Linked DNA regions of Homo sapiens: region 2 is linked to region 1. Evidence: promoter capture Hi-C in human tissues and cell types (Jung and others, 2019). All regions are on one chromosome and are shown on one strand. Each heading gives the region's core, a stretch centred on a gene start or on the middle of the fragment in contact. The rest is flanking DNA. Distances are from core to core; before and after follow the strand shown. Region 1 holds the start of RCOR1 (REST corepressor 1). Region 2 overlaps KLC1 (kinesin light chain 1).

What was found. The method cuts DNA at HindIII sites, captures the fragments that hold promoters and counts their contacts. A contact is called where the count stands out against the background at its distance.
Region 2: a contact is called between a fragment that was not itself captured here and the fragment with the promoter of RCOR1 in region 1, in 1 of the 25 tissues and cell types used here (aorta).

Annotation. Positions count from the first base shown.
Region 1 is chr14:102,587,990-102,593,898 of GRCh38, reverse strand. RCOR1 (REST corepressor 1) reads right to left here and starts at 1,250. Exons shown (of 12, transcript NM_015156.4): 1 at 712-1,250; 2 at 574-633. The coding sequence starts at 1,012. RefSeq lists silencers at 274-883, 944-2,253 and enhancers at 1,832-2,647, 2,929-2,978. The HindIII fragment of the contact is 11,930 bases long and covers 1-5,909 here.
Region 2 is chr14:103,660,378-103,666,181 of GRCh38, reverse strand. KLC1 (kinesin light chain 1) reads right to left here. Exons shown (of 17, transcript NM_001394837.1): 4 at 3,988-4,066; 5 at 3,255-3,480. Among named protein-coding and RNA genes, the nearest start is that of KLC1, 34 kb to the right of the region's middle. The HindIII fragment of the contact is 4,198 bases long and covers 1-3,674 here.

The sequences.
Region 1 (5,909 bases), core at 1-2,500:
AGGCAGGCGCCCTCTGGAAAACACACTTCTTTTATTGACTGGTTTTGGGGGGTCGTTCTTCTACTCGCCTTCTGGATGGGAGGGCAGTCAGGAGCCAGCAAGAGCCCAGAGGCTGAGAGGAGGAGCAAAGGCGTGGGGAGCAGCCTTTGGGAAGGGTTCCGAGAAAGGGGTCTCTGGGGACCTCCTAAGTCCGGGGCGCTCGCAGGACACTAACTCTCCGGCACTGCCACCCTTACCCCTGGCCGAGGCGCAGCTCACCTGGACGCAGGGACCCCCAGCGCCCCCAGGCCAGGTGTGGCCACCTCCGACGCCACCCGCAGTCCTCGGAGGCGCAAGGGGGCAGCGGCGCCGGCCCTGCTGGGGGCGACCTGGCCTCCCCCGGGTGCAGAGGCACGTTTGCAGAACACTCGTGTGCGTGTGCGCCTCCTCGTCCTCGCCCTGCTGTTCTCCCCACGGACGGCAGGGCGAACGCACAAAAAGAAAGTTGTCGGCGGGCTCCCGCCCCCTCGGGCTCGCCGGGGACCCGGGGCTCCCGCTCATCCCCGCCGCCGGCCGGCCGGGGCCGCTACTCACCGGGGTCGAAGTCGGGCACCACCGCCTGGTACTGGGGTCCGACCCTCATGCCACCGCCACCTGCGGGGGAAGCAGAATACGGCGGTCAGCGCGGCGCGGGGCGCGGGGCCCGGGGCCGCGGGGGCGGCTGCCACCTACCGTGCTCCTCGTCGCTGGACGAGCCCGAGCTGCCTTCCTCCCAGGAGTTGCTGCTGCTGTTGCCATTGGGCGCCGCCGCCGCCAAACTTTTATTCTGGCCATTATTGGGGGCGGCGGCGGCTGAGGCGGCGGCGGCCGAGGCTGAGGAGGCGGCGGCGCCCGAGGCGGCAGTGGCGGCTGGCGAGGCGCAGGCGGCCGAGGCGGCGGCGGAGGCGGCGGCGGCGGAGGCGGAGGCGGCCGCGTTGTTCCTCCCTCTCCGCTTCCCTGAGACCTCGGGGCCCTTCTCCACCATGGCCGGCATCGGCGGGGGCCGGGGCCGTGCGAAAGTGGCGGGGACCCGCGGCTCCTGAGGAGGGGGCGCCGAGACGGGGGAGGGGGCGCGGGGCCGGCGCGGGGCCGGGCGGGCGCGGCGGGAGCCCACGGGCGCGAGTCCGAGTCGGGGGAGGCCCAAACGGGCAGAGCGCGGAGCCGCTTCAAGCCCCCAGCGACGAGCCGAGCGCAACTTTCGCTCTCATCGCCGCCCTCACTTCACTGGCACCAACTACTCCGGGAGCAGCGAGCGGAGAGGGGAGGAGGCAGGGGCGGGGCCTGCAGGGGCGCCGGGGGAGGGGGGCGCGCAGCCCAACTGACGCGAGATGGCTCCGCCCCCCCTCGCGCTCCCATTGGCTCTGGTGGGATTTGGACAGCCAGCGGCAGCGGGGTTGGCTCCGCGCGCCCGTCCGTCCGGGGCGGCGGGGCGGGGGAGCGGGGAGGGGCGGCTCCGGGCTTCCGTTGGCGAGGTTCGGTTGACGCGTATCGCCCGCCGTACGTGGTTTGAGGTTTGCCATCTCCCTACGCCCCATGATCCATCTCTCCAGGCAGCGGCGAGGAGTTCGCGGCCCTCCCCGCCCCCTACCCTTGGCCGCGGCCCCTGCCCTTGCTGCCCGCGCACGCCTCCCGCAGCCTCTGGCCCCCCATCTGAAGGACCCCGCTGAGAGTCCCGTCGACTTCTCAAAGTAAAATGTGTCTGGCGCTGGGAAGCCGCGGAGCGCCCGGCCGGGACTACTTTCCGCTGCGCGGAGGAGTACGGGCGCGCTAAGACTCCATACAAAGAGGAAACTAATTGGGGGAAACTCGCTGCGCCCCCGCCTTTCCCAGGGGACGCGGGGCTGGCGGGGGCGGGGGCCGCGGCGCGGGGGACGGGCTTCCCAGGCGGCCGCCTCCCCTGGCGCGAGCTGCGTGGGGACTCGGGTCTGCGGTGCTGCCCGCTAATTGGGTGGGGGAGGCCGGGGCCCCCGGGGTGGCTTGGGTGCGGGGTGCGCCGCGGCTTCAGAGGCCCAAGGGAGGGTCCCCGTGGGTCCCCGGGGCACAGAGTCCCGGCGTGGGGACGCCCAAGCCGCCTGGGTGGCCGCTGAAAGATGAATGAAGGGGCCCAGTCGTCCTGGGGCGGGGGTCCAGGAAGGGTAAAGAGGAAGAAGCTATTTTCATCCCAAGCTCTCGGCACGGGAGGAGGGTCAACTTCTTTCGGGGCGAGGGCAGCCACTTTTCCGGACCTGCCGCCCGCCCCGCCTCCCTACTCCCCCCGGCACCCCCACGAGGGAGAACACGGGGTGCGGGCGGGTGGGGTAGGCTGAGGCTAGCCTGAGAGCCGCTGCCTTGGAGAGGGACCACCGGGCAGCCGTACAGCTGTTAGGAGGCTGAGGAGTGTAACTGCCTTGGAGGTCCCGGTGCCCTACCCCCAGCCAACCCTGAAACTACGCGCCCTTCGTAATTAGACCAGTGGAGGTCTATACGGAAAATCTTTTTAAAGCAGGGAAGGCTATTTTTCTTTTAAGTTACTTCAAACCTGAGCTTAATTTGGGGACTAGCTCTGGATATAAATAGCTACAGGGAGAATTTGGGAGTTTTATGGTTTTAAAGCCTGAGTAAATAAGCAGGGTTTTGTCTTGAACATTTTCTGCAGCATGAACCATTATTAACTTTATTGAAGAGACCACGTTCACTTCTGCCTAAATGGCCTTTAAGAAACAGGGCTGGGAGCCCTCCTGGTATAGAAGCCCTTCCCCCACCAAGTTCAGGTGGGGGACTTAGACTTTTAGACTCTCCTCAAAAGTACGTCCCTCTCCTTGGAGTGCCCTGGATGCTGCAGGTGTGTGCCCCAATACACCCTGTCAGCTGGCCTGGGCAGGGTACAGAACCGGGGTGGCATTCCCGGGGCTGGGCCACCGGCTAAGGCCTCTGACTCATCCGGAGGTGAGCCCTGTGTGAGGAATGAGGTCCAGAACACGCTGCCCCGCTCGCTTGGTGTCTACAAAGTTCTGCCACGAGACTAGAAGGATCAACCTACAAGGGCACAAAGGTGATACTGGGTCATTAAGGCAATAGGGATAGCAGAGCACACAAGGCCGCCCTCTCCACCCACCAGCCCCCAAGGCTGAGGCCAGGCTGGGCTACCAGTAGGGGCGCAGCAGTGGACTTGACAAGCATTCTTTTTTTTTTTTTTCCAACGAATATTAACACTTAATATGTGCCGGGCCCTGTTCTATTTTGTCTGACCCTAATGCTACACCGATACTGTATTGGCCTGAAGCTCTCAGATTTACCAACCGTAAAATACAGGAAACAGTACCTACCTCCTGGCCTGATGGACTGTAATAGAGTCCATCCTTCCAGCATAGGGAACCCCAACGTTAAGGACACTCGCCTTCCCATCGCTTGGGGAGAGGGCTCCACACACAGCCCTGGGATTGGGAATTTGTGATCCCACACTTCTAACGCATCCACAAAGCCGGCAGCCCTATCATGTTTTTCGGTGAGACTCCCACTCTGAAAGTGAGACCTCATGCCTGCTCCCCTCTCCTTACACCTCCCACAGCCCCTTCTGCCTGGGCTCCTAGCCCGTGGCCTTACCTCATTCTTCAGAGAAAAACGAAAGCCTTCAGGATCTTTCTCCTCTCCCAGTACCCAAACAGACAAACTTCCCTGTCGGGTACTCACGTCCTCCTCAGGCCTAGGACCCCATCCCGCTGCCCTCCCCTCGAGGCTTTTCTGTGCCATCAGCCTCACTCTGGACCGACTCCTGCCCCCAAACCCTCTCCTGCCTCTGGCCATTTCTCCCTCCCTTCAGACATTTCTGTAGACTTCCCTACACTCACCTCCTCCACCCCTTCCCGTCCCAGCCTCTCATCACCCCATCCAGCAGGGCTGTGTCCCCACCCCTTAACTGCTGCTAAGGTAACCTACAACCTCTCCGCTGCCCAATCCGGGGGTCACTTCTTGGTCTCGCTGAGCTTCTCAGCAGCAGCTGAGTCGACCACTCCTCCTCCTGGAAACCCTCACTTATCTGGACCTGGGGATTCCAGTTCACCTGGTCCTGCTACCTCACAGGTCACTCCCCATCAGTCTCCTCTGCAGCTTTCAACCTGTCATCGTTGGGATTCCTCCTTGCCTTTTTCCTTTCATTAATTTTTTTTTTATCCAGAGTCTCACTCTGTCGCCCAGGCTGGAGTCCAGTGGCACGATCTGGGCTCACTGCAACCTCTGCCTCAGCCTCCCGAGTAGCTAAGATTACAGGCACCCGCCACTACACCCGGCTAATTTTTGTATTTTTAGTAGAGACGGGGTTTCACCATATTGGCCAGGCTGGTCTTGAACTCCTGGCCTCGTGATCCGCCCGCCTCGGACTTCCAAAGTGCTGGGATTACAGGCTTGAGCCATGGCGCCCGGTGACATAGCGAGATCCCGTCTGTATAAAACAAAAACAAAAAAAAAAACTGTGACCCTATGACCATCTCGTCCCCCCACCCTAAAAAAAAACAAAAACTATGACCATGACCATCTCATACCCCACCCTTATAGATGAGAAAGCTGAGGCACCCAGAAGTGAAATATCTTCCTAGGATCAGGCATGATATGAGGGGAGGAGCCGGGGCACAGCTAAGCCAGGAGCTATGGAGCCTCTTAACCAAGGCCAGAGTTGCCCCAGGGATTCTGGGACGGCCAGGGGCAAGGGTGTCTGCAACATGCTTGGTCTGATGCTAAACATACAGTGTTTATAATTTTGTATTCATTGTATTTTCCCAGAAAAAGGGAAGGGAAAAGAGTCAGCATGTGTTATAAAATGATTAGAAAATGGGAAAGGAAGTACCTGGTACAGCAAAATCAACCATCAAATGAACATACCCCAGTGATGGAGTCATCAAAGCCCAAAGGGGCTCCGTCTCCTTCAGTTCAGGAATGAAGGGAAGGGATCAGGAAAAGGAGAGACGGGTACAGGCTTTCCTACCCCAGTGTTTATAGTTCTTCCTGCTGCTAATTATTATTATTACTATATTTGGGCTTGTTAGAAAATTCTGTTTGGCAAGGAATTCCTTTCCCAAGAATGGAGCCAGGCAGAGGGCAGGGTATGGGCCAGGGCTGGGAAGTGTCAGGAAAACACCCTAAAGCCATTCCTGGGAGGTTTCAAGCCCCCAAAGGACTATTGGAAAACTGAGACTTCAGGCTGGAATTTTAGCCATCCTAAGAGTTCTGAACCTGGAATCCATGGATAGAATTCTGGAGACCATGAACCAGAGCTGGTAAATACATCTTTATTTAAATTAACCTTTAACACCAAGTGCGGTGGCACTCACTTATAATCCCAGGTACTTTGAGGCCTCCAGCAAGACCCCTGTCTCAAAAAAAAAATCAACCTTTAACCAAAATCCAGCATTTTCTTCACTTATGAATGTAGGTGATATTCCATCTCAACACATTGCAGTCACTGGAAATATCTCAAAATAGCATTTATTTATTTATTTTATTTTTATTTTATTTTTTGAGACAGAGTCTTGTTCTGTCGCCCAGGCTGGAGTGCAGTGGCATGATCTCAGCTCAGTGCAACCTCCCGGGTTCCAACTATTTTCCTCCCTCAGGCTCTGAGTAGCTGGGATCACAGGCACCCACCACCACGCCCAGCTAATTTTTGTGTTTTTAGTAGAGATGGGGTTTCACCATGTTGGCCAGACTGGTGTCGAACTCCTGACGTCGTGATCCGCCCACCTTGGCCTCCCAAAGTGCTGGGATTACAGGCATGAGCCACCGCGCCCAGCCTCAAAATAGCACGTATACTCGTCTCCAAAATCACAGAAGTTATTAGACCCACTGCTAGAACTTGTTACTTAATATGTTAATAACTAAGCAAGTAAATCGTAGACCTAATTGTAAGACCTAATTGTAAA
Region 2 (5,804 bases), core at 326-2,825, 1.1 Mb before region 1:
TGAGGCAGGAGAATGGCGTGAACCCGGGAGGCGGAGCTTGCAGTGAGCCCAGACAACGCCACTGCACTCCAGCCTGGGTGACAGCGAGACTCCGTCTCAAAAAAAACAAAAAGAAGCCCACCAAGAACTCAAATTCAAAAGAAAACAAACATAGAATACTAAAGCATTAAAATCCTAACAGAAAAATGTGCAAGGTAACAGGAAATTCACAGAAGGATACAAATGACTAAAAATACATAATCAAAGAAATACAAATTAAAACACAATGCATACTCTATCTCCACCAACGGAATAGAGCCCCCCACCTCCAGGGTGGCGCCTGTGCGGCAGAAGCATGGGCAGACACAGCCTTTCTGAGTGGCAGTTTGGCAGCAGGTACCAAGGACTATAAAATGTTTATACTCTAACCCGTCTTAGGAATTTATCCTAAAAAAAGAAATACATGGCTGGGCACAGTGGCTCACACCTGTAATCCTAGCACTTTGGGAGGCCAAGGAGGGTGGATCACCTGAGGTCAGGAGTTTTGAGACCAGCCTGGCCAACATGACAAAACACTGTCTCTACTAAAAAATACAAAAAATTAGCGGGGCTTGGTGGCAGGTGTCTGTAATCCCAGCTACTTGGGAGGCTGAGGCAGGAGAAATGGTTGAACTCCAGAGGCTGAGGTTGCAGTGAGCTGAGATCACTCCACTGCACTCTAGCCTGGGCGACAAGAGCAAAACTCCATCAAGACACAAGACAGGACAGGACAGGACAAGACAAGACAAGACAGAAAGACAGACAGACAGACAGAAAGAAAGAAAAGAAATCAATCAATCCATCCTGGCCAGGCGTGGTACCTCGCAGCTCACACCTATAATCCCAGCACTTTGGGACGTCAAGGTGGAGGATCATTTGGAGCCCAGGAGTTTGAGACCAGCCTGAGCAACATGGTGAGACTCCATCTCTACAACCAATCAATCAATCCAAAATCTTGAACAAACCTTATAAAGATCAGTAAAATATTAAAGGCAAAAAAAAAAAGCTTAAAATTATGTGTCCCTTAATACAAGAATGATGAAATAACAAGCTGAAAGGTAGAATACTGAATATGAATACATATGTAGCTACTATTTTTTTCCCAAACATCTACGCACGTGGGTCAACTCTCACACTATAATGCTAGGGAAAAACACAAGACTGACAGAGGCCATGGCATCCCCAGCACCCAGCAGTGATGTGTGTGCCCATGCACGCTGTGCACAACAAAAACCTAGTTATGCTTACTTAACTCATTTATATTAATAATATCCAGTGCTGTCCAGAAACTTCCATATGTTTTAATGGGCATATAAGTTTAAAAAAAAAAAAAAAAAAAAAAAAGCCTTGGCCAAGTGCAGTGGTTCACGCCTGTAATCCTAGCACTATGGGGTACCGAGCTGAGCAGATCACTTAAGCCCAGGAGTTCGAGACCAGCCTGGGCAACATGGCAAAACGCTGTCTCTATGAAATATATAAAATTTAGCTGGGTGTAGTGGTGCATGCCTGTGGTCCCAGCTACTCAGGAAGGTGAGGCAGGAAGATTGCTTGAGGCCAGGAGTCAGAGGTTGCAATGACCCATGATCGCATCACTGAGCAAGACCCTATCTCAAAAAAAAAATTTTTTTGCAATGAAATGTCTCAATCTAATTAAGAGCTAAATGCAAATATCTCTGACTAAGAAATTCCTGCAGTGAAATATGCAAACAATTGGCCAGGCACAGTGGCTCATGCCTGTAATCCCAGCACTTTGGGAGGCCGAGACAGAAGGATCACTTGAGGTCAGGAGTTTGAGACCAGCCTGGCCAACATGGTGAAACCCCGTCTCTACTAAAAATACAGAAGTTAGCCAGGCATGGTGGCGCATGCCTGTAATCCCAGCTACTCAGGAGGCTGAAGCAGGAGAATCACTTGAACTCAGGAAGCAGAGGTTGCGGTGAGCTGAGATTGCACCACTGCACTCCAGCCTGGGTGACAGAGCCAGACTCTGTCTCAAAAAAAAGAAAAAAGAAAATATGCAAACAATCTCAACATTCACCAACAGGAAAACAGTCAAAAAATGTCCAGAATGTCCACGAAACCCTGCTGCATAGTCATGGGGCAGACCAAGCTGCTGACAAACTACAGAGCCAAAGGGAACGGCCTCATTTTAAATAGTGTTGTTATAACAGGGGGCTTACTTTCTTATTTGTGTGTTTTTATTTTATCAACTTTCAAAACTTATTTTTAAAGAAATCACTTATGCGTGTGGGTAGTCATATCACCGCATTTCTCTTCAAGCGTCATTAGGCCCTGTACTCTCCTCTTCCTCCACGTCCTCCTCCTTGCTCAGGTTCCCCTCGCCCCACCCCGACAACCTCAATCCTGTCCCAACAGGACACCCTGCCTCCGGCTCCAGCCCCCAACTGCATCCTAGGCACTGAGCCAAAGGAACTCTTCTACCACACAACTGAGAGCCCACCACTCCCCCGGGGCGTCCTTCAACAGGGGTGAAAGGGTTCGGGGAGCACACAAGGGGCAAAGGGCAAGTTGAATCCCGGATTCCAAAAGGAGGCACAGCGCACCAGGCCTCAGAAGGCAGGAAGACACCGCCAGGCCAAGTGGGAAGGCTATTTAGACAAAAGAAGCCGCCTGCACAGGGTCTTGTGGAAAAGGTCAAAACAGCTTCGTTTGGCTGGCGTTAGGGGTACACTGTGGTCTATTCTAAACAAGCTGAACTGAGTGGTCACGGGCAGCATCTGTTCTTCTGATTCAGTGACACCCTTCCACAAAGCTTGCTAAATAGGCCGGGCGCGGTGGCTCACGCCTGTAATCCCAGCGTTTTGGGAGGCTGAGGCGGGCGGATCACGAGGTCAGGAGATCGAGACCATCCTGGTTAACACGATGAAACCCCGTCTTTACTAAAAATACAAAAAAATTAGCCAGGCATGGTGGCGGGTGCCTGAAGTCCCAGCTACTCGGGAGGCTGAGGCAGGAGAATGGCGTGAACCCGGGAGGCGGAGCTTGCAGTGAACCGAGATCACACCCCGGCACTCCAGCCTGGGTGACAGAACGAGACTCCGTCTCAAAAAAAAAAAAAAGCTTGCTAAATATTTTTAATTTAACCCCTGTTTAAAGAGAAGTGGATATGGTTGAAAAATAGTTTATACAGATACATAAAAATATATTTTAAGGGGCAAGATGGTTAAAAACATTGTCTCTAGGTAAAATTCAGTAGGTAAACAAAAGTGACTAGCCTGTACACCAAGGCCAGGATGTTGAGCATGGTGGCCACGTCCGGGTGGTCGTGTCCTGAAGTCTTCTCCAGGTCCTCCAGGGCCTGCTTGCAGAGGGGCACAGCTACCTCGTAGCGCCCCTGCGAGGCGTACTGGATCACCAGGTTGTGGAGCGTCCGCAGCCGCGCGGGGATCTCGTAGCCGCCCTGCTGGGCAGCCGCGGCTGCACTGCTGTGCTGCTGCTGGACTGCACCGAGAAAGTTCACTTCAGATGGGTTTTTAAAGACAATTATCCAGATGAGTCAGTTTCTTTAAAATTATCTTTACTAACTTTGGTTCAAGTTAGTACTTGGCCCCCAGTGCTATTTAAATCTTTTCCTAGTACTGTCTGGGCAGGCAGGGTAAGAGTAGTGACTACAGTGTCAGGGATGGCAACATGGCCACTCAGTGCCATGAGACTCCTCTTGGCGCCATGAAACAAGCAGGATAAGTAATTCTGACCTCTTCACCCTGTAAGAATCTGCAGACCACGCCTGAACTGCACGTGCATGCCGCTGTATCCTAGGGTCTGCTCTAGCATATTCCCGTATCACAACACAGATTATTTTGGAAAACCAAAGGCAACCCCGCTCTGGTGGTGCTTCCTCCAGGCAGGCCGCATGCACTAAGGCTGCCACTGATTGCTATGACCGTGTTCTAGGAGGAACACCTCTCTTCTGCACTCGGTAACATGCCTGCATCACCCATCACTCACTTCCTTGCCCTGGGTCGTCTTCATCATTGGGGAAAAGGTCATCCAGAGGCTCTTTGGTAGAATCAGTGTCTTTGTCCTCCTATAAAACAGACCCAGGACAACACTTCATCTTACACGTGCTATACACATCCTGTCCTGAAAATTTTTAATATTAAATACATTTTAACTAAGAATCTTAGAAAAGATGATCAGTTTTTAACATCAAATGTAGGATCGCCGACAATCTGGCTTATCCATCAGTTGAACAGGAGTAATGAAAAGCTTTTTAGACTAGAATACAAATACTTGAGTGCAGACCACAGTTTGACGAAATGGGCCATGGCTGCATTTCATGCCTCAGATCCTTCTCCCGCGCTTTGAGGGAGGTCTAGGAGAGCAGGGAAAACCCTGACTCAAAATAAAATCTTATTTGGGAACCAAATATGTAGCAACAGGTGAAAATGGTGCATCTCTGATCCCCAGAGAAGTGGAGGGGCTAGATTCCTCACCACCACAATCGGCTCTGGGGCAGGATCCCTGGGAGCAGTTTGAAACCTCCCAGCTTTAAAGGCCTGTGACCCATGTTTCCCTACATTTTGCTGATTAGTCAAAGAAATAAAATCAGAAACTACATAATGGAAAAGACAGGTAACAGCCTGACCAGTAAGAAATTAGCTTTGTCATGAGGCAGATGAACACTGTTTGGCTCCGGAAGGGAAAATGTGATAAAGACACATTGCTTTTAGAATATTCCTGTCTGGGATGCATAATCCAGGCATTAGACGAACCCCAACTGAGGAATGATGGACAAAATAACTGGCCTGCATTCTTCAAAAACACCAATGTCATGAAAGACAACCAGAGACAGAGACCCCATTCCACGTGAAAGGCTACTCAACAGATGTGACGGCCACATGCAGGATGTACCCCTGAACTGGACCCTGGGACACAGTGAAACAATGCCATGAAGGATGCTGTTGGCAGTTAACAAAAGGAGAGTATGAGCTGCAGAGGAGAGGACATACTGGGTCTGTGTGCAATTTCCTGAGTGCCCTTGGCCCTGGACTGCCACAGGAGAACCCCTCACCCTAGGGAAAGACGCCCAGCAGCAGTAAGCAGCCGTGGCACATGCTATGCCACTATGTGAACAGGTTTCAGAAGAAACAGGCACTCGTAAGTACTCTGGAAAGGGTAAGGAGAGCCAGCTCACTGGATGTTTTCTCCAAGTTTAACACTTTTTCAAAATAATAAATTTTAAAAGTCTCCGATCCTACGAAACCAGTTTTCTTCTTCTCAACATCCTCCAATGTCCCAGGTCAATCACTGCTGGCATCGACATCTGCAAAGTACTTGCATTTCCATAGCACTCTAGAGCAAGCATCTTTTATTTATTTATTTATTTATTTATTTATTGCTTGTTTTTCTGAGACAGGGTCTCCCTCTGCCACCCAAGCTGGAGTACAGCGGCATGATCTTGGCTCACTGCAACCTCCAACTCCCAGGTTCAAACAATTCCATGCCTCAGCCTCCCAAGTAGCTGGGACCACAGGTGCACTCTACCACACCCAGCTAATTTTTTTGTATTTTTTAATAGAGAAGGGGTTTTGCTATGTTGGCCAGGCTGGTCTTGAACTCCTGGCCTCAGGTAATCCACCCGCTTCAGCCTCCCAAAATGTTGGGATTACAGGCATGAGCCACCGCATCGGCCTTAATTTTTTTTTTTTTTTTCTTTTTTGAGACAGAGCTTTACTCTGTCATCTAGACTGGAGTGCGGTGGCATGATCTTGGCTCACTGCAACCTCCATCTCCTGGGTTTAAGCGATTCTCCTGCCTCAGCC